Linked DNA regions of Homo sapiens: all the other regions are linked to region 1. The links are contacts of gene promoters, found by promoter capture Hi-C in blood cells and fetal thymus (Javierre and others, 2016). All regions are on one chromosome and are shown on one strand. The core of a region is centred on a gene start or on the middle of the fragment in contact, and the rest is flanking DNA. Distances in the headings are between cores, read along the strand shown. Region 1 holds the start of GET1 (guided entry of tail-anchored proteins factor 1). Region 2 overlaps BRWD1 (bromodomain and WD repeat domain containing 1). Region 3 overlaps BRWD1 (bromodomain and WD repeat domain containing 1). Region 4 holds the start of BRWD1-AS1 (BRWD1 antisense RNA 1).

What was found. Contacts are between HindIII fragments. The CHiCAGO score rates a contact against its expected background, and 5 or more counts as called.
Region 2: a fragment that was not itself captured here is called in contact with the fragment with the promoter of GET1 in region 1 in 3 of 17 cell types (total CD8 T cells, naive CD4 T cells and non-activated CD4 T cells); the score reaches 9.0 in total CD8 T cells.
Region 3: a contact is called between a fragment that was not itself captured here and the fragment with the promoter of GET1 in region 1, in 2 of 17 cell types (total CD8 T cells and naive CD8 T cells). The highest score is 6.9, in total CD8 T cells.
Region 4: the fragment with the promoter of BRWD1-AS1 here is called in contact with the fragment with the promoter of GET1 in region 1 in 17 of 17 cell types (monocytes, total CD8 T cells, M0 macrophages and 14 more); the score reaches 21.8 in monocytes.

Annotation. Positions count from the first base shown.
Region 1 is chr21:39,377,043-39,382,286 of GRCh38, reverse strand. It overlaps GET1 (guided entry of tail-anchored proteins factor 1), which reads right to left and starts at 1,961. Exons shown (of 5, transcript NM_004627.6): 1 at 1,801-1,961. The coding sequence starts at 1,902. GET1-SH3BGR (GET1-SH3BGR readthrough) reads right to left here and starts at 1,961. Exons shown (of 14, transcript NR_146618.2): 1 at 1,801-1,961. The HindIII fragment of the contact is 3,691 bases long and covers 1,674-5,244 here.
Region 2 is chr21:39,279,552-39,284,795 of GRCh38, reverse strand. BRWD1 (bromodomain and WD repeat domain containing 1) reads left to right here. Exons shown (of 41, transcript NM_033656.4): 9 at 4,548-4,648. Among named protein-coding and RNA genes, the nearest start is that of BRWD1, 31 kb to the left of the region's middle. The HindIII fragment of the contact is 2,323 bases long and covers 1,147-3,469 here.
Region 3 is chr21:39,296,548-39,301,791 of GRCh38, reverse strand. BRWD1 (bromodomain and WD repeat domain containing 1) reads left to right here. Exons shown (of 41, transcript NM_033656.4): 5 at 3,210-3,360. Among named protein-coding and RNA genes, the nearest start is that of BRWD1, 14 kb to the left of the region's middle. The HindIII fragment of the contact is 1,464 bases long and covers 2,129-3,592 here.
Region 4 is chr21:39,314,204-39,319,447 of GRCh38, reverse strand. BRWD1-AS1 (BRWD1 antisense RNA 1) reads right to left here and starts at 3,741. Exons shown (of 3, transcript NR_046655.1): 1 at 3,633-3,741; 2 at 2,239-2,403. It overlaps BRWD1-AS2 (BRWD1 antisense RNA 2), which reads right to left. Exons shown (of 1, transcript NR_111942.1): 1 at 4,533-5,244. It also overlaps a transcript of BRWD1 not described here. RefSeq lists enhancers at 3,633-4,327, 4,328-5,023. The HindIII fragment of the contact is 2,798 bases long and covers 1,343-4,140 here.

The sequences.
Region 1 (5,244 bases), core at 712-3,211:
GGTCAGGAGTTTGAGACCAACCTGGGCAACATAGTGAGACCCCGTCTCTATTAAAAATACAAAAATTAGCCGGGCATGGTGGCAGGTACTGGTAATCACAGCTACCTGGGAGGCTGAGGCAGGAGAATCGCTTGAACCTGGAAGGTGGAGGCTGCAGTGAGCCAAGATCAGGCCACTGCACTCCTACATAGGCAACAGAGTGAGACTCTGTCTCAAAAAAAAAAAAAAAGAAAATGTTCTGGGAGCGGGGCCACGTGCAGTGGTTCACACCTGTAATCCCAGCACTTTGGGAGGCCAGGATGGGTGGATGGCTTGAGGTCAGGAGTTTGAGACCAGCCTGGCCAACATGGCAAAGCTCTGTCTCTACTAAAAATACAAAAAAATACCTGGGCGTGGTGGTGCATGCCTGTGGTCCCAGCTACTTGGGAGGCTGAGGTGGGAGGATCACTTGAACCTGGGAGGCAGAGGTTGCAATGAGTCGAGATTACACCACTGCACAGAGCCAGACCCTGTCTTAAAATAATAATAATAAAGTTCTGGGATAATGGTTGCACAAAAATGTGAATGTACTTAATGCCACTGAACTGTACACCTAAAAATGATAAAGATGATAAACTTCATATTATGTGTATTTTACAATTAAAAACAAGAAGATGAGCATGGGCCAGCTCATCAGGAGTCTTTTATGCAATGCCTGAGACATCATCTTAAAGACTGGATAGCATCAGGAAAGATTCTGAAGGAGACTCAGGGGTTAAAAGAGAATTCCCTATATCTCAGGACAATGCAGACAGTAGGACAATTGAGAGAGTAAGAATAGAGTTTTGCACAAAACAGGCACTCAATGAATACTGGTGGAATAAAATATCCTCCACTACTACCAATTTATCTTAGGAGAGAAAAGCAAGAACTGTTTTCCAAGACAACGCTGAAACGAATGCGCCCAATCTTTGAGGACTCCGCCTTTGCCCAACAGCTCCTCATTTCTGCTGTGGGCATACGGAGGGCGCTCATTCTCGGGGACAGTTCCCAAGGTACCCCCGCCTTCCATGGCCACACCCCACCACGCCCTGTCCAATTTGCCACCAAATCCCTATCCCTGCTCCAAAAGGCAATCAAATCTCCACCTCCAGTCACTAGGTGGATGACTTAGTGCCACCACTAAATTCTCTTGAGCCAGACTCCTCCGGGAGGTAAAGGAGGGTGGGATGATAATACTCGCCTCTCCCAGCAGCCGTGAGACAGAGGTAATGTACTCACTACCTGGCAGAAAGAGAGTGTTCCCCAACCTGGTTGCTCCCTTGGATACTGAAGGCATCACGCTGTACTGAGATTCTCTCTACACCTGTCTCCCACCCTACCCACCCCAAGAATGTGGGCTCCTGGACGCGAGGATCCATCTCTCCGGGACCTGGAACAGCTGACTTCGCCCGCCAGGCCTCTGGGAAACCCTGGCCGAGGGCTGCTCGAATGCCTCTAGGAACCAGGATTAACGGAAACGAGGCTGACAGCGGGGCACTAGGAACTCCCAGTGTGAGGTTCGCCGCCGCCACCCACAGCCAGAAGAGTCCAGGGTTGCCCGGTGTTTCTCCCAACCCCCTAGAACCCAGAAAGTCTGATTTTGGGGTAAAGCGTCGTACCTTTTAGACGCTAACAACTATCTCAAAAAAGCTTACGGACCAACCAAGACGCTACTACGGCCTTCAGTCGCCCAGTTGAGACCCCTGTACCTACGCCAGACCCGCCGGGGGACTGGGGCGGCATCCCCACCGGCCCTTGGGAGGCCAGGCAGCCACTTACGAAGGATGAGAAGGACGGGAGGAGGATCCTAAGAACATTGCATCCAAACACGAAGCTGAGCACCAGCAACCACGCCCAGTGGTCGGCCGCGGCTGAGCTCATCCCGGACGCTCCTGGCTGTGCTGGGTCCGCTACGGCAGCTCCATGGGGACCACAACAACAGCGGCGACCGCGCCTGCGCGGTGAAGCCAAGCGCCCCAGAACAGGCGCGCCGACGCGCCTGCGAACTGCGTCGCCCTCGCGGGAGGCGGGGCCGTTTTTTCGTCCGGCTCCAGTTGGAGCGGTTAACACGTTCCGGGTTTCTCCTGGGCCTTCGGCGGTTCCGTAGCCTTCTAGCACCCATCCCTACTGAACCAGTTTTCTGACGTCCGTGTTTCTTTTTTTCCTTCTTTTTAAAATTAAAAACCTTCTCATAGTACCAAACTCTGGTTTCAAGTGCTAACGACTCCCTGCTTTTGTCATAATTAGTACTTTCTTTAAATTAACTTTTAATTCTAGATAAGTTTAAGAAAAACTCTTCCATAAATAGAAAACTACCGTTTTTATAGTAGCAGGTAACTGTCGTGTTCCAAGCAGTTACATGGAAAATGCCTTACGTTTTCGTTCCAGATCTAAACACTGTAGTAAGTCTAACCAATTTACACAACTGCATACCTGAAAAATAAGTTTAATAGAATGCACTGTTCACAATCATTAGTAATAGTTAATAAATTAACCTGAATCTAGGTGAAGATCAGGTTTTGCAGCGAAAGAATCCCAACTCAAATGTATGCAAAGTGAGCAGGGCGAGGTGGCTCACGCCTGTAATCCCAGCACTTTGAGAGGCCGAGGCGGGCAGGTCATGAGGTCAAGAGATTGAAACCAGCCTGGCCAACATGGTGAAACCCCGTCTCTACGATACAAAAATTAGCCGGGCGTGGTGGCGCGCGCCTGTAGTCCCAGCTACTCCGGAGGCTGAGGCAGGAGAATCGCTTGAACCCGGAAGACGGAGGTTGCAGTTAGCCAAGATCGCGCCACTGCACTCCAGCTCTGGCGACAGAGCGAGACTCCGTCTCAAAAAAAAAAAAAAGTATGCCTAGTGGATAAAGCAAGACATGTTCAACTGTCTCTTCTGCCATGCTGCCATGACTGGTTTCTGAGGACTAATTCCTAATCAAAATGATGCAAGATTGCGGGTACACTGGCTCACGCCTGTAATCCCAGCACTTTGGGAGATCCAAGCAAGGTGGATCACAGGCCCAGGAGTTTGAAACCAGTCTGGGTAACATAGTGAGATCCCCATCTCTACAATAAAATATAAAAATTAGCCGGGCACTGTGGCACGTGCCTGTGGCCTCAGCTACTAGGGAGGCTGAGATGAGAGGATCGCCTGAGCCTGGGAGGTCGAGGCTGCAGTGAGCTGTGATCACACCACTGGACTCCAGCCTGGGCGACAGAGCACAACTCTGGCTCATTATTATGAACCAGTTAAAATAATTATGCGGCTGGGCACAGTGGCTCAAGCCTGTAATCCCAGCACTCTGGGAAGCCGAGGCAGGTGGACCACCTAAGGTCAGGAGTTCGAGACCAGCCTGACCAACATGGCAAAACCCTGTCTCTATTAAAAATACAAAAATTAGCTGGGTGTGGTGGCGGGCACCTGTAGTCCCAGCTACTCAGGAGGCAGAAGAAGGAGAATCGCTTGAACCTGGGAGGCGGAGGTTGCAGTGAGTTGAGATCGCACCATTGCACTCCAGCCTGGGTGACAAGAGTGAAACTCTGTCAAGAAAGAAAGAAAGAGAGAAAGAGAAAGAGAAAAAGAAAGAAAGAAAGAAAGAAAGAGAGAGAGAGAGACAGAAAGAAAGAAAGAAAGAAAGAAAGAAAGAAAGAAAGAAAGAAAGAAAGAAAGAAAGAAAGAAAGAAAGGGAAAGGAAAGGAAAGAAAGAGAGAAAGAAAGAGAAAAAGAAAAAGAAAAGAAAAGAAAGAGGCTGTGGTTCTACAAATTTCTGTGTCAAGAAAACATGTGAAGCAAAACTATTCTGTAGTGGTAGAGTGAATTCCTTCCCTGAAAGGACTTATTGGTTAAGTGACTTCTGAACTGACCAAAACAAAGAGCAGGAGTCTGGCTCTCCTCCATAGCCTTCCCTTCCACCTGGATGGACCACGCAGCACGGCAGCCAGGCTCCTGGCTCCTCTCTCACTGGAGATTGAGATGGATTTAGAAGGAGAAACTGCCTCTTGAAAAGTGATGACAGGCCAAGCATGGTGGCTCATGCCTGTAATCCCAGTATTTTGGGAGGCCGAGGTGGGTAGATCACCTGAGGTCAGGAGTTCGAGACCAGCCTGATCAACATGGTGAAAACCCATCTCTCCTAAAAATACAAAAATTAGTCGGGCGTGGTGGCGCATGGCACACGCCTGTAATCCCAGCTACTCAAGAGGCTGAGGCAGTAGAATCACTTGAACCCAGGAGGCGGAGATTGCAGTGAGCCCAGATCACACTGTTGCACTCCAGCCTGAGCAACAGAGAGACTCAATCTCAAAAAACAAGAAAAAAAAAAGGAAAAGTGATGACAGCCCCGACCCCACTGGACCCCTTTCACCCGCCCCCAGTCTCTGCCTCTGGCTAAAGAGAAGTCCACTACCACACCCCACTGCCACCTATCTTCAGGAAAAGGATTACCTAATTCCTGGACAGTCGAGAACTCCTAACAAAAAAAAAACCCTGGAGCATGTCCTCAACTTTGCAGCAGCGGTGGGAGAGAAGCAGCAGCACCCGGGCTTCACAGGCAACCCAGTCTGAAGAACTCAACCCTCTCCTGTTGCTTCCTGTGAGCAGCACTTCACAAAAGCACCAACAATGGAAGGCGGAGACCCTCTTCCAACACATGGAAAGCAATGTGAGAGCCAGGGTGTTTCAGCATGAGTCAATCTACATCTAGCACAGGTTAAGATAGTAAACAAAGCTCATAACAAGAACAAGACTGTTCATTTCTTAATGCTGCTGTAACATATTACCATGAACTCAGTGGCTTAACTTTATTATCTCACAGTTCCAGGAGAAAGATACCTGAAATGAGTCTTATTGGGCTAAAAATAAAAGCAAAGCTGAGTTCCTTCTGGTGGTTCACGGGAGAATCCATTTCTTTGCTTTTTCCAGCTTCTAGAGGCTGCCTGCGTTCCTGGTCTTGCATCCCTCTTCCTTGTCAAATCCAGCAGGCACAGTTCTCTGACTCCTGCTTCCATTGTTACATCTTCCCTGGCTCTCCTGCTTCCCTCTTTCACTCTAGAAGAATCTTTGTGATTATACTGGATCCATGTGGCTAAACCAAAATAATCTCTCCATTTAAAATTGTTAACTTAATTACATCTGCAAAGTCCATTTGCCACAAAAAGTAACATATTCACATGTGCTGGGGATTAGGTTGTGGACATGGTGGGGGGACAGTATTCTGCCTACTGTAA
Region 2 (5,244 bases), core at 1,059-3,558, 98 kb after region 1:
GAACTCAACTCAATAGAAAAAAAATTCAGTTAAAAAATGGGCAAAAGACCTGCGTAGACATTTCTAAAAAGAACACATACAAATGGCTGACAGATATATGAAAATATGCTTAACATCACTAATTATCAGGAAAATGCAAATCAAAACCACAGTGAGATACTACCTCACCCCAGTCAGAATGGCTGTTCTCAAAAAGACAAAGGATAACAAATGTTGGGAAGGATGTGGAGAAAGGGGAACTCTTATGCACTTTTGGTGAGAATGTAAATTAGTACAACTATTATGGGAAACAGTATGGAGGTTCTCCCGCCTCCCCCAGAGGCAGGTTCTCTCTCTGTTGCCCAGGCTGGAGTGCAGTGGTGTAATCATAGCTCGCTTGGCCTCAAACTTATGAGCTCAAGTCATCCTCCTGCCTCAGCCTTCTGAGTAGCTGGGACTATAGGTGTGTGCCACGTCATCTAGTTAGTTCTTAATTTTTTGTAGAGACAGTGTCTTGCTATGTTTCACAAGCTGGTCTTGAACTTCTGGCCTCAAGCAATCCTCCTCCATTGGCCTCCCAAAGCACTGGGCTTTATAAGCATGAGCCACCCTACCCAGCTGGAGGTTCTTCACAAAAAAAGATTGGCTATATATCCAAAGAAAATAAATAATACATTCTTTCATAGCAAAAGAGAGGATCAGCATATATTAAAGAGTGCTTATTTTACCACTGAACAAGTTGTAAAAGTAGACGTTCTTAAGCTCATGAGCCTGTGGTAAATACTAGGTAGTCACTCAAAATGTGTAGATTTCAAGCATACTTTGGACTTTGGAAGTAGACACATGAGATTGTAGCACGGAATCCTAAAATCCTAGGCCAAAGAAGACTTTTAGAAATCATAGTTCATACTGTTTCTTTTATGCAGGATTTAGCTAATCCATCTTAGAAAAAAAAAGCAAGACTATTTTTAATATCCAGAAATACATATTATAGTCATTGGCGACTGGCCTTGAGGGGGCATAACAAAACATGGTTGTATGTCAGTGATACTGCAATTGATGAAATGTTGCTATTTAGAAACAGTAAAAGGAAGCCCCCAGAAGTTAAAAATACCTGTTGGACACTAAAAAAACAAAAACAAATCGCAACTCTTAAAACTTCAAGCTTAGAGGCTTCATTAGTGAATTCTGTTAAAACTTGTTAGAACTGCTGAGAGCTTAATACGATGGTTAAATATATATAGGACCCATGTCTTAAAACCAGAACTTTATTGTACACCAGCAATAAAGAAGTAATAAATACAATGGAAGAAGAGTATAATTTGTAATAGCAACAAAACCCCTCAAACACATAGGAATGAATTTAACAGGAAATGTGAAATATGTTTATGAAGAAAGGTCTTAAAAATACTGACCGGAGTCTTGGGTTGGGGAAGGAAATAGTCTAAGTAAGTGAAAATACCTCTACCATGTTCCTGAATCAGAAGATTCAGTATTGTAAATATGTCAGATCTTTCCTGATTATGCTATAAAATCAGCGTATTTACATTTGAAATTCCAATGATTTTGTTTTTATGGAACTGTGCCAGCCAATCAAGCTCATTTAAAAGAGAATTATATAAGCACGGACAGCGAAAGAAGAGCAAAGAATTGTTTAGCCATGCTGGAGATATAAAAATGTTTTAGAGCTGTTATAAAGAAAACAGTATATATCAGTCCATGAATAGATGAAGATATAAGTGGGACAGAAATAGCTACAAATTGCTTATCTGTCTGGAAATTTGATTTAGAACAGGTGACTTAAACATATTCTTTCATGGACAGTTAGGTTTAGAATTCCTTTTTTTTTTTTTTTTTGTGACGGAGTTCCGCTCTTGTTGCCCAGGCTGGAGTACAGTGGTGCGATCTCAGCTCACTGAAATCTCTGCCTTCCAGGTTCAAGCGATTCTCCTGCCTCAGCCTCCCGAGTAGTTGGGATTACAGGCGCCCACCACCATGCATGGCTAATTTTTTGTATTTTTAGTAGAGACAGGGTTTCACCATGTTGATCAGGCTGGTCTTGAACTCCTGACCTCAGGTGATCCACCTGCCTTGGCCTTCCAAAGTGCTGGGATTACAGGCATGAGCAACTGTGCTTGGCCTCTAGAATTCTCAAAGTACTCTGCAAGGTTGCGAGTTTTACTCTGATGTTTTAATTAAAAAAAAATTTTTTTGTCCAATTAGCAATTCAGTGTGGAAGGTGTTTAAATTTTTTTTAAAGTGAAAGCAAGTTTATTAAGAAAGCAAAGGAATAAAAGAATCTTCAATTTTAATTAACAAAAATATCCAACTACTAATATAACTTTAATTATACTACTTTTTCTCATTACTTTTAATGAGATAGCCTGCAAAGCTCAATGTTAGGCCACATTCTGGAACATATCTACTTAGATATAAACAATCACTTTCAACATTAAAAAAAATCCATAATTTCTTCCTTACTTTGCTTTCTGTTAATGGCACTATTAGTCTTTCTTTTCTAAGCTCCTTCTTTGTCTTGAATGTTTCTTGAGTCAGCAAGTTTGTTTGCTTTTTGAGACAGAGTCTCACTCTGTTGCCCAGGCTGAAATGCAGTGGTGTGATCTTGGCTCTTTGCAACCTCAGCCTCCTGGGTAGCTGGGACTACAAGCATGCGCCACCATGCCTGGCTAATTTTTTATTTTATTTTATATATATGTTTATATACGTATGTGTATATGTCCATATATACGTATACGTGTATATATACATATGTACATACATATACTTATACATAGACGTATATGTTGACATATGTGTATATATACATATTTATATACATGTATTTATATGTATACATATATGTCTACATATATACACATGTATATGTATGTATACGTATATATATACATGTATACATACATACATATATATATATATTTTTTTTGGTAGGTGAAGGAGTCTTGCTGTGTTGTCCCGGCTGGAGTGCAGTGGCGCCATCTCAGCCTGCTGCAACCTTTGCCTCCCGGATTCAAGCGATTCTCCTGCCTCAGCCTCCTGAGTAGCTGGGATTATGGGCATCCGCCACCACTCCTGCCTACTTTTTATGTTACAGGCATCCAACATCATGCCCGGCTAATTTTTGTATTTTTAGTAGAGGTGGTGTTTCACCATGTTGGCCAGGCTGGCCTCAAACTTCTGACCTCAAGTGATCTGCCTGCCTTGGCCTCCCATAGTACTGGGATCACAGCCGTGTGTCATCACGCCTGGACAATTTTGTATTTTTTTGTAGAGACAGGGTTTCGCCATGTCACCTAGGCTGGTCTTGAACTCTTGGACTCAAGCAATTCTCACTCCTCGGCCCCACAAAGCGCTGGGATTACAGGCATGAGCCACAGCACTCGGGCGAGTCAGCAAGTTTTGATGCTCCTCTCTTTTGGTCTTTCCTCCCCATTCTAGGGGGAGAAGGGTGGAGCTGTATTCCAGTTAAGCTTCTTGCTTCTTAGATTAACTGGGTTCCCTCTTGGCTTTTTATTACATCTTGCCTCTTCTTTTTCAATCAATACTGTATATTGCTGTAAGACAAATCGTTTGGCTGCTTCTGGTGTTTTTACTTGAAAAGTACAGTTACCCTTTAAGCTGCTTTGATTACATCCAGATTCTCTATTCATTTACCCCATTGCCGCATGACTTTGAGAAATGAACACTTTGTTCATATAGATCTTTGTTTCTATCATATACCATATTCCCCCTCGCTTTTGAACTTGTGCTGATATTATTCCTTTGCTTAGTGTGTGTTTGTTTTCCTTGCATTTTCCTACTATTTAATCCTTCCTAGATGTCTCTAGCTAGTTCATCTTCCTTTCTGTAGCTTGCTTGTTTAGCACTTTTGGTATTTTATTAAGTACAGATGTTAGCCTTATTCTGAAGTTGCGCTGCAGTATAGTTCCTGTGTTTCCTTATTTTATGGCTTTGTTTTCAAAATATTTAAATCATTGACCCATTTCGAATGTATCCTGATGTAGTCTGAAGAATGGACTTAGTTTTTTTCCAGATTACTGCACAATTGTAATACCATTTATGCAGTGATCCATTGTTCGCCCAACAGATTTGAGATAATACCTTAATTGTACTTAAGTCTTAGATTAGGATTCATGTTTTCTCCCATTTTTCCTTCCAGTTTTTCAGTCAGCTTTCCCAGGTTGAATAGGGTCTAGTTTTGGATTGTATTTTTTCCATTGGTCATTCTATCAGTGTACCCTGTTTTGTCTGATCATTTTAATTATTAACACTCTGTGATATGCTTTAATATCTAGTAGGACTAGATCTCCACCTTGTTAAAGTTTTTCTGGCCAGTCTTGTTCATTCTGAAAATAGGCTTATTGAGATCATATTACATATAAATGAATGTGGAGAGGTTATGATTTTTTCACTACGGTAGTATTACCTATATTTTGGATTTCATGTGTTTATTTCCTGAAACTGTCAATTGAAGTTAAGTTTGCAAGACTATTAAACTGTAACTTAAGTAGAAGTTCTGGAAACTGAATTGTATATGTTTTACTTTTTAGTTTAGCCCGATGGCCAAAGGCTCTCAAAGATACATGGTTTCCACTGGTGCTGATGGGACAGTTTGCTTTTGGCAATGGGATTTAGAATCCTTAAAATTTAGGTAAGTGGCTTTAATTATGTAACAGGTTTTGTTTTTTAATGTAGTTACAGTTTAATCTAATGAAATGAAGTTTTATTGTTATGAGAAATTGTGTATTGTTGCTTTTTTTTAACCTTTGAACTTAATTTTTATTATATACAGCATATGTGCCATATTGACTATTTCCTATTTATAATTATGTAGATAGCAGGATTTGTAAAAGAAGCATAGCTTTTCTATCTTAGCACATTTTTGCAAAGACAAAGTAAGGCATTTAAAATAATAGGTATATAATTGGAAATTCAGGCAGGAACATTTGAGAGTCATAAGACCTGTATTGTATACCTGTGCTGTCTAATACAGTAGTCACTAGCCATATATGATCGTTGAGCACTTTAAATGTGGCTAGTGCAATTGAGGAACTGAATTGATAATTTAAATTTAAAACTTACAATTGATTAATGTATTAAAACATTTTTTTTCCTTTTGTTTTCGTTTTCTTTTTTTTTTTCTTTTTTTTTTTTTTTTTTGAGATGGAGTCTCACTCTGTTGCCCAGGCTGGAGTGTGATGGCGTGATCTCGGCTCACTGCAGCCTCTGCCTCCTGGGTTCAAGTGA
Region 3 (5,244 bases), core at 1,611-4,110, 81 kb after region 1:
TTTAGGATTTTTATTTTGTCTTTGATTTTCAGCAGTTTTACTATGTTGTCCTGTAGTCATGATCTATTGCTGTATAACAAATTACCCCAAAATTTAGCAGCTTAAAACTACACTAATTTGTTGTTATCTGCCAGTTTCTGTAAGTCAGCGGTCCAGACACAGCTCAGATGGGTTCCCTGTCTCCTTTTCTCTGAAGGTGCAGTCAAAATATTGGCAGAACTGGGGTTTTAGCTGAAGGCTTGACGGGAGGAATAGGCTTCCAAGCTCATGTAGTTTTGGCAGGATTCGGTTCCTGGAGGGTTGTTTGACTGAGGGCCTCAGTTTCTACCTGACTATTGGCCACTCTCAGTTCCTCGCCCTTTTGGTCTTTCCAGTGTGATAGCTTGAGTTATCAAAAGATGAAAGCTGACGAGGCAGTAGAGTCTTAGCAAGACAGAAGTCACAATTGTAACCTAATCATAGAAGTAGTATCCTCTCAATGTTACTGTTTTCTGAAGTAAATGAGGAGGGGATTTCACAAGTCTGACTACCAAGAGGTTTGGGCACTATTAGCGGGCATGTCAGAAGCTGCCTTTCACATGTGCACCTAGGTGGTTTCCTTTTTTTTTTTTTTTTGTGGGAGCCTTGCTCTGTCACCCAGGCTGGAGTGCAGTGGCGCCATCTTGGCTCACTGCAAGCTCTGCCTCCTGGGTTCACGCCATTCTCCTGCCTCAGTCTCCCCAGCAGCTGGGACTACAGGCACCTGCCACCACGCCTGGCTAATTTTTTTGTATTTTTAGTAGAGACAGGGTTTTACCGTGTTAGCCAGGATGGTCTCGATCTCCTGACCTCGTAATCTGCCCGCCTTGGCCTCCCAAAGTGGGTTTTCTTTGCATTTATTTTTCTTGGGTTCTCTGAGCTTTTTGAATAAGTGGTATGATATCAAATAGTTTAATGTGTAATTAAAGTCCCAAGTGGAAAGGATAGAGGGGAGAAGTAGTTTGAAGAAATAACAGCTAAGCATTTTTGAACATCTGGGCCATCTCTAGGTCTGCTTCTATTGACCATTTCCCCTCTTGACCATGGGTCATATATCTAGCTTTGTTGTGTATCTCATCATTTTTTTGAGGTATGCTGTAACTTTTTGTGTAAAGAGTAGAGGCTGCAGTAATGTATTTACCTCTGGTAAAGATGTGCTCTTTTCTCAAGCAGTTAGTGTGTGAGACAGGGTCAATCTAATTTGTAATTGATCATCTCTGAGCTTTGTTACATTCAGTAAATCACTGGCTTTCCATGCTTTGAGGGTGGCATCAATACTTTCCCTTCCAGCAGAGTTTGACATTTGGCCCTCATGAAATTTCTGAGATGTCTTATTTTTTACACTGGAGTTGCCACCTTTCCAAACTTTGTGAGATCTTTTTCTACTTTGTACCTGACTGCCAACTTTTTAGGTTGCTACAGAGTTCGCTCTGCCTTGCCGTCCTGCTCTAGGCTTTCCATGTCAGAAGAGATCATTCTCCACCCTGTTGTCCTATCTCTAGCCTTAGGAGGGCCACTACAGTGCATTTCTTCCAGGGCTGCCCTGGCTTTAGTGTTTGGGCCCTATGCAGTTGGTGAAGGCCTATGGGAAAAAATTGTGGTAGGTGTGCAGACTCACTGTAACTGAGGCGCCTTAGGATTCTAATCAGTCATGCCGGCCACAAGTAGCCATTAAGTTTGTTAGAGGTTTGAGTGGTTTTTTCTTATTCTTTTCTGAGGTCAGTTCTTCCTGCCTCTCTGCTAGGGGTGTAAGCAGCTATGAGTCCCTTTTCTTTAACTTTATTTTTTTTAGATGGAGTTTCACTCTTGTCGCCCAGGCTGTGGAGTGCTATAGCATGATCTTGGTTCACTGCAACCTCCGCCTCCCAGGTTCAAGTGATTTCATACCTCAGCCTCCTAAGTAGCTGGGATTACAGGCGCCTACCACCACACCCAGCTAATTTTTGTGTTTTTTTTTTTTTAGTAGAGATGGGATGTCACCATTTCCGCCAGGCTGGTCTCGAGCTCTTGACCTCTAGTGATCCACCTGCCTCGGCCTCCCAAAGTGTTGGGATTACAAGCGTGAGCCACCGTGCCCAGCCTGAGTCCCTTTTCTGTTCCCAGAAAAGCTTGTACTTTGTGGGATTAGTTAATGTAGATTTTTCTTTGTTTCTTCAGCTGTGATGGGTTTATACATTTTTTAAAGTTTATCCAGCCTATTCTCATTGTCGAGATGAGAGCAATATCTTTTATCTCTTACGTTGGAGTAAATAAATGATTATTTTTCATTTAAAATTATAACAGACATATATTTGTCTATAGTAATCCATAGGTATATCCACTTATGGCTCCTGGCACCTAATAGGCTGTCAGTACTTACTGAAAGAATTAATGTTTTTTACTGCCTAGTATGTTGTTGAGAACCAGTTATCCATGATTTAGATACTAAATGATGTCTTATAGGATCTTTGATATCTTAACATCTCTCTCAAAGATGTATGCTTCACTTACAGGCCAGTTAGCATATATATATATTTTTTTTTTTTTGAGACAGGCGAGTTAGCGTAATATGTATATATATTTTTTTCTTGTTGCCCAGGCTAGAGTGCAATGGCACGATCCCAGCTCACTGCAACCTCCACCTCCTGGGTTCAAGTGATTCTCCTGCCTCAGCCTCCCAAGTAGCTGGGACTACAGGTGTGCACCACCATGCCTGGCTAATTTTGTATTTTTAGTAAAGATGGGGTTTCACCATGTTGGTCAGGCTGGTCTCGAACTCCTGATCTCAAGTGATCCACCTGCCTTGGCCTTACAAAGTGCTGAGATTACAGGTGTGAGTCACCATCCCTGGCCCAGTTAGTGCAATTTTGAGTAAAGTCTTGATTTCAAGTCTTGAGATTAAGTTTTGTTAGCTCTGCAACCTTTTTTCTTTTTCAGAGGTGCTTTTCCAGGTCATTTGCATATAAATTTTAGAACAAAATTGTCAATTTCTACAAAAAAAAATGTTGCTGAAGTTTTGAGTGTTACAGGTTTGAATCTGTAGCTCAAATCTGTAGATCAGCTTATTGTTTATTTAAGTCGTCTTTAATTTCTCTCAGCATGTTTTACAGTTTTCAGTGTATGTTTTTCACATTTTGCCAGACTTATCCCTAAGTATTTAATAGTTTTTGATATTATTAAGCTGTTGTCATTAAAACTTGCTCTCCAACTAGGTCTTGTCCAATAAGCATGTGGCTCCTGATCATCTTTTGCAAATCTGCCAGCGCATCGGTCCTATGTTGGATAAAGAAATTCCACCCAGTATTTCAAGAGTCACTTCTTTACTTGGTGCAGGAAGGCAGTCTTTGCTACGTACAGCAAAAGGTACCTTAATTTGAAGAAGTGTTCTGCTTTGTATTAATAGCCTAATAATTATTATAATTGTGAAGTAATGTAAGCATTGTGGAAGAAAGGTGATAATGTAACTATAAATCATGCTGTGGACTATAAAATTCTCTGCATTTAGCATAGAACATTGAATTTTATTACATAAGTGTTTAATGGGTCCTTCTGCATTAAAAAGTTGATAAAGATATAGATGTTAAGCTAAAAAGCTTGAATTTATTCTGAGATGTTGTTTGAGGTTTTATCAATGTGAGTTCTTAATTTTCCATTTTGTAGCTCACTCATAACTTCATTGAATGTAATTGTATGTGTCTAATAAACTCTTTAAATGCTAGAGGTATTTCATTTGATATTTAGCTTCTGAAAGCCCTTTGTTATAAAGGGAAGTGATTTTCTAAATTTGGTAGCAGCTTGAAAACAAGCACCACAAATGTAAAACTGCATGGTTCTTTTTTTACTAATTTAATTTTTTTGCCAAGTTATGTGCTAGCAAAATGTTTGAAATTGCTATTCTTTTTCTGTTAGCTTGGTATATATGACTTAGACTAAGTATATGTATGTGATATAATATATGTGTACATGTGGCTAAACTGCTAATGGGCAAAGATTGTTGGTTCTTCTGATGCTGAGTATACATCAAGTTCATCCCATGATTATTTTTTATTACGAGCTATTGCTGATGTGATGCTACTCTTAGCTGCACCACCAGTATAAAGCTTAACTGAGAAAGAACACCCCTCCCTCTTAGTTCCGTGCCAGACTGGTTTGTTAGCTTTAGTTGTTTCTTAGTGCTCTAGCCATGTCACCCTGTGGCACTAATCAGGACACTGTTTATATTCTTCCTCTTCTGTGTCCCTATTCACTTTGTAATTATTCTATTTTAGCTGGTTATATGGTAGTTAATTGGTAGCCTGTTTTCCTTTGTTTTCTTTACTTGTGTCAAGCTCCATGTCGTTGTTTTGTGATGAGCAGTGATTTAGAACTGGCCAGACCTTAGAAGAGTCTTCAGCAAGCTGCCCTAGGGTAGGGGCGTATTCTCTGTTTGTTTTGTACTGGTACCCCAGGAGGATGCCTTGTAACTGCTCTTTGGTCATGATAGTGGTAATGAATCCATTCATGTAAAATGCAATATGTCTGTTAGTTTGGGGCACCCGAGGCTCAGTAGAGGTTTAGTATGATGCCTTCCCTTTCTTCTTTGAGTTATGAAGAAACTAATTTCTGGCACAGTGTGACTGCTTCAAACCTATGTTCTGCTGCTATCTCCTATAGAGGAGGGCAGACTTTTTTTTCTTAGTGCATTTGCTGGTAGGTCAAGGAGGGATGGACTTTGAATTAGTGTTCAGAGTCACAGATCCTACGTATGTGCTCTTCAGTAGAGGATTTTCTGTGATCCTACAATGAAGGGAAAGCTATATAATTTATTGGTACTTCCTAAAGATAGAGACTAAAGTCATGGTAGTATTGGCCAAATTAATTTTAAAACTGAACAAGTCATGAATTTTCATATAAATCAAAGAACTTTTTCCTTATAAAAGCTTCCATTTTTGAAAAGTTGGATCAGTTGTAAGACCTTTCATCTTTAGTATTGTATGATATAATTCTACATTGAAAAATAAACACTTGGCATTAAATGGGACTTGGAGTCAAAAGATCTGGTTTTATGGTCCATCTTTTACCAATCATTTGCTGTGGATCTCTTTAAAGGTCCTGGAACCTTTGAGCCTCAGTTACCTCACTTGTAAATTGGCAAAAATACCTACCTCACAGGGTTGTTGTGAGGATTCAATGAGCTAATGTATGTTGAAAGCACTTTGTGAATTGTAAAGTGCTACACAAATGTTAGTTGTTGTTGCTGCTGTATCT
Region 4 (5,244 bases), core at 2,492-4,991, 65 kb after region 1:
GTCCAACCACACTGTGTTTTCTCTAGTGCTGTGAGAAATGTTTCAAAGTAAGAACGAGTAAGACTTGGAGACAGACATGGGCCAGCGCCTGCAAGCTGGGAACAAATAGGACAGAAGCCAATGGCAAGGGAGAGGCAGAAGTTGGAGAGGGAAGAGATAAATGTGGAAACAATTTGCTGAGGAAGGCAGGGACAAGTAGCATTAAGGGGACAGCTGGTTGGGTTAGACTTAAAAGGAAGAAAAGGTCCTGTGGGAAAGATGACACCACTAGTAGGTGGAGGAAGGGCATCAGGAATTAAATGCAATATAATATCTACTAGTGACTAAGGGCTTATCAAAAGATCAGATACCTTCTTCATTTTTACTTTGAAAGTCCTCCAAAAATCGATCAAAGTCCAGGTGTGGTGGCTCACGCCTGTAATCCCAGCACTTTGGAAGGCCAAGACAGGAGGGTCACTTAAGGCCAGGCAATGCAGTGAGACCCTGTCTCTAAAAAATAAATAAATAAATAAAATCTATCGAAGTGTTAACTCTCCTCTTCCTAGGGAATTTATCCAACAGAAGTCCAGGAAGATCAAGGCGGGAGGATCACTTGAGGCCAGGAGTTTGAGACCAGCCTGGGCAACAGAGCAAGACCCGCATCTCTAAAAAACAGTAAAAAATTAGCCAGGCATGGTGGTGCACACCTGTAGTCTCAAGTACTCAGCGGTAGGACTGCGAGGCTGCAGTGAGCTCTGACTGTACCACTGCACTCCTGCCTGTGTGACAGAATGACATACTGTCTCTAAAGCGGAAAAAAACAAAACAAAAAACAGCCCAGGAGCCAGGGAAGACTTTTAACACATATTTTGTTGAATGAATGAATGAAGTGATCCAGGTTTTTGTGTGCATTTAATTTCACCTCTAGGTGCTGATCCAGTTTGTGGTATAGTGTTCTGGAGGTCCAACGTCATCTACTTCCTGCCCTTCAGAGGTATGCTGATGTTGTGTGTACATCAACATCAGCACAGCCTCCTGAATGAACCTAAATTCAGTTAACACAAATTTGCATTAAAACTAATATTAGGCTTTGGATTAGGTATCTGAGTTGTTTTGCATGTTCTCCATTGCTCACAGATTTCCTTATCTCATTTTTCAGAGTCTTTTGAAATGGACTCTAATCTACTAATTCATTCCATTTTGACCACTCTCTTATGTGAATTGTTGGAACCAGACTTCTTTGGTCACCATTTTCTAGATATGCATTCATATTTAACGTTGTTGGGCTTCCTAAGTGGTGATTTGGAAGGCCTTACTGAATTTTATTTTCCTCTCATTCACAGACAGATTAAAAAAAAAAGCTTTCCATTTTTAGGCAAATTCTTAAACTTTATTAGCCTTAGTTCCTCATTCTTTTTTGAGACAGGGTCTCGCTCTGTTGCCCAGGCTGGAGCACAGTGGTACCACCATAGCTTGTGACAGCCTTAAACTCCTGGGCTCAAGTGATCTCCTGCCTCAGTCTCCCCAAATAGCTCAAACTACAGTCACCCAACACCATGCATGGACTAAGTTTTTAATTTTTTGTAGAGAGAGGGTCTCACTATGTTTAAGACCAGCCTTGAACTCCTGGGCTCATGCGGTCCTCCTGCCTTGGTCTTCCAAAGTGCTGATAGCACAGACGAGAGCCACTACGCCCAGACTAGTTTCCTCATTCTTAAAATGGGAATAACAGAATCTAAGAGTTGCCTGCGGTAAATGAGATTACACACGTACTTATCACGTGGGCTTCCAAATGTCAGCTCTCTGATGCGCTAGCTGTGCAATCCTGTGTAAGTCTCCTAATTTTCAGGTCCCATTTCCTCTTTTGTGAAACGTGGCCAAGGGAGAATGGACTTTGCAGTGTTTGTGTTTCAGTCTAAGATAATACTGTCTACTTGGGATTGCAGTCCAGCCACCACTTACCAGCTATATGCCCTTGGGCCATACTTCCTCTGCGCCTCAGCTTGAGCCTATCAATGACATCTAAGAGCTGTTTATCCAGTCAGGAGTTGCTTGCCACGGCATAAGATGTTGGTTCCCTTGAAAATGCAACCCTATAGCTTAATGTCACCCACTGTTAAGATTTTCCAACACTTGCTTACCATGTAGCTTTCTTGTGGTGAAACTCTAAAGTTATTTCCATTTACCCAAAAGCAAACCTCAGTGTGTACATATGGAATGGCTGGGATTGAATTGTGTGAGGAATACACAGATTCTTGCCTTGTTTGGAGACCACTTCTGGTGGGTACCCACTAAGGAGTTGCTCCTGGACAGTGTATTTCTTTTTCCTCCTCCTGGCAGGCAAATATGAGTCACATCTGAGTCTCTTGACATATGGGAGTCGAATCGGGAAGATATTCTCTCTCTTGTTAGAAATCTTTGTTCCTATTCAAAATTTAGAAAGAATATTTGTCATGAATGTGATAGTAAGTTGTAAAAGGACTCCCAAGGCTCTTGTAAAGGAAAACTCATGTCATCGTGTCTTTTTTTTGAGACAGGGTCTTGCTCTGCTGCCTAGGCTGGAGAGCAGTGCTGTGATCATGGGTCACTGCAGCGTCAATCCCCCCCGGCTCTAGCCATTCTCATGCCTCAGCCTCTTAAGTAGCTGGGGCTACAGGTACACACCTACCACCCCTGGCTATTTTTTATTTCTTGTAGAGATGGGGTCTTACTATGTTACTCAGGCTGGTCTCGAACTCCTGGGCTCAAGCAGTCCTCTGGCCTTGGCCTCCCAAAGCGCTGGGATTACAGGTGTGAGCCACTGTGTCTGGGCTCGTGTCATCATTTCTGATCTCTTGTAATGGTTATCATGGTGCCAGTATCAGAACGATAATTTTGGACAATGACCAGAGCTTGGGATATAAATTCTTGTAATATCTTTAGGGGGTTTTTAATCTTACGCCCTTGTTACAAAATGAAATGCACAACTCCTTGGTCAATCATTGAAAGTTTAAATTCTCCCCTCTTGATGTCTTTGTCATTTGGTAACACTGGTAATCTTGCAGCATCAGATCACTGTCCCACAGTCATCTATGCACTGTAACTTCAAATAATCAAGTTGTTGCAAGCAGTTACTCATCTTAACAATCTAGCTACCAGCCTGTATGCCCTACCTTATTTGTTGGCACAACCTTGGAAAGCCCCAAACGAGATTTTTGTGGTTTTTATTTCACCCCAACTTCATCTTGCAGATTTACTGTCCTACATACTTCTGATCTTGTCTCTTCTCTATCCTTATGACCAACGCCCTCATGCATCATTTCTTTTCTATTTCAGGGGTATGTTAAGTGCCTCTTGGTCTTAACTTTCTCAAATCCATCCTAAAATAGAAAATGATTCCTTCCTGGCTTAGAATCTTTCAATTGCTCCCAATTTCAACTTCTGACATCATGGTCCCATCCTCTCCAAAGTCACCCCAAGTAGTCATACTAAACTTCTGGTTCCTTAAACTAGAAATCATATTCATGTCTTGGCCCTCTGTTGTTTGTATGTGCGAAATCCCTTTCCACACATTGTAGCCTGGATAACCCAAACTTCCCTAACATTTCCCCCACGCACAGGCAAGCTGATCTTCTGATATATCTCTGCCCTAAATCGTGTCATTATTTGCTTACATCTGTTTCCCCTAAGAGACGCTGAAGTCTTTGATGGCAAAGCTGTGGCTCATTCCTTTTTTTTTTTTAATCTCCATCACTTGTTAGTGCTTGCTGAATTAACAGATGTAAGGAGTTAACTTACTGTTGCACTAGCTCAAACATATTTAGATTGTTACCTCACAAATAGCTTTTTTTTTTTGGAGACGGAGTCTCGCCTTGTCGCCCAGGCTGGAGTGCAGTGGCGCGATCTCGGTTCACTGCAGCCTCCGCCTCCGGGGTTCAAGCGATTCTCCTGCCTCAGCCTCTCAAGTAGCTGGGACTAGAGGCGCGCACTGCCACACCTGGCTAATTTTTTTATTTTTAGTAGAGACGGGGGTTTCACTATGTTGGCCAGGATGGTCTTGATTTCCTGACCTCGTGATCCGCCTGCCTCGGCCTCCCAAAGTGCTTGGGACTACAGGCGTGAGCCACCATACCCGACAGCCTCACAGATATCTATGTCCATTTATAAATATATATAAAAGCTTTTGGCCAGGCGCAGTGGCTCATGCATGTAATCCCCAGCACTTCGGGAGGCCAAGGCGGGTGGATCACCTGAGGCCAGGAGTTCGAGACCAGCCTGGCCAACATGGTGAAACCCGTCCCTACTAAAAATATAAAAATATAAAAATTAGCCGGACGTGGTGGCGCTTGCCTGCAATTCCAGCTACTCGGGAGGCTGAGGCACAAGAATCGCTGGAACCCGGGAGGCAGAGGTTGCAGTGAGGTGAGATCGCGCCACTGCACTCCAGCCTGAGAGCAAGACCCTGTCTCAAAATAAATAAAAGCTTTTGCTATTTGGTGTAAATAAAAGCCAACTTGTACACGGTGCTTACTGTATACCAGGAACACAAATTCATTAAATCCTCACAACTTTGAGACAGGCACAAATATTATCTGTTTACTAGTGAGGAATTACCTACGGTTTACTAGTAAGGAACACTGAGACCCACAGGTTGTGACTTGCTCAAGGTCAAGCTGGTGGAGCCAAGACAAGGTGCAGGCAGTGAGTCCTGCCCTAGAGTCTGACCCGAACCACATTTAACGTCTATGTGGTGTGTAGGTTATTGCCATGAGTAAGAATCAGAATTGTTAACGCGCATTCCAGGAAGGCAGGGACACCACTGAGTGTTACTGCTGTACTTTAGGGGCCAGAGCAGGGCAGGCTGGATGCGCGGAGGAAACTCATAGTTAGGTCAGAAGCCTGGCAAGACAAGGGAATTTTCTGGTCGTCGTCCACCTCTCCAACCTCACATCCTACTAGTCTTCCAAGAGGATTCTAACTGCACATGACTCCCTAGTTTCCGGCTTCTCTTCCTAAGGAGGGTCTGCGGCCCGTCTGCACCACCCTCTCCCCACAGTCCCGTTTTCCTGTCCATGCTTGGATGGATCCAGCCGAGCCGTCAGCCGCAGCTGCGCGCTGCTCCCCCGACTCGCACCCCCTCGGCGAAGCGCTGCATTTTATGTAATTTTCTGCCGGGCTGCTGGCTTGTGGGGGATGTGGCTGGGTCTCGGCAGCCTTCAGCGCCGCAGACGCTCCGGCAACGCCAGCATACGAGGCCCCCGCCCCAGGAGCGCGGGTCCGGGCGGC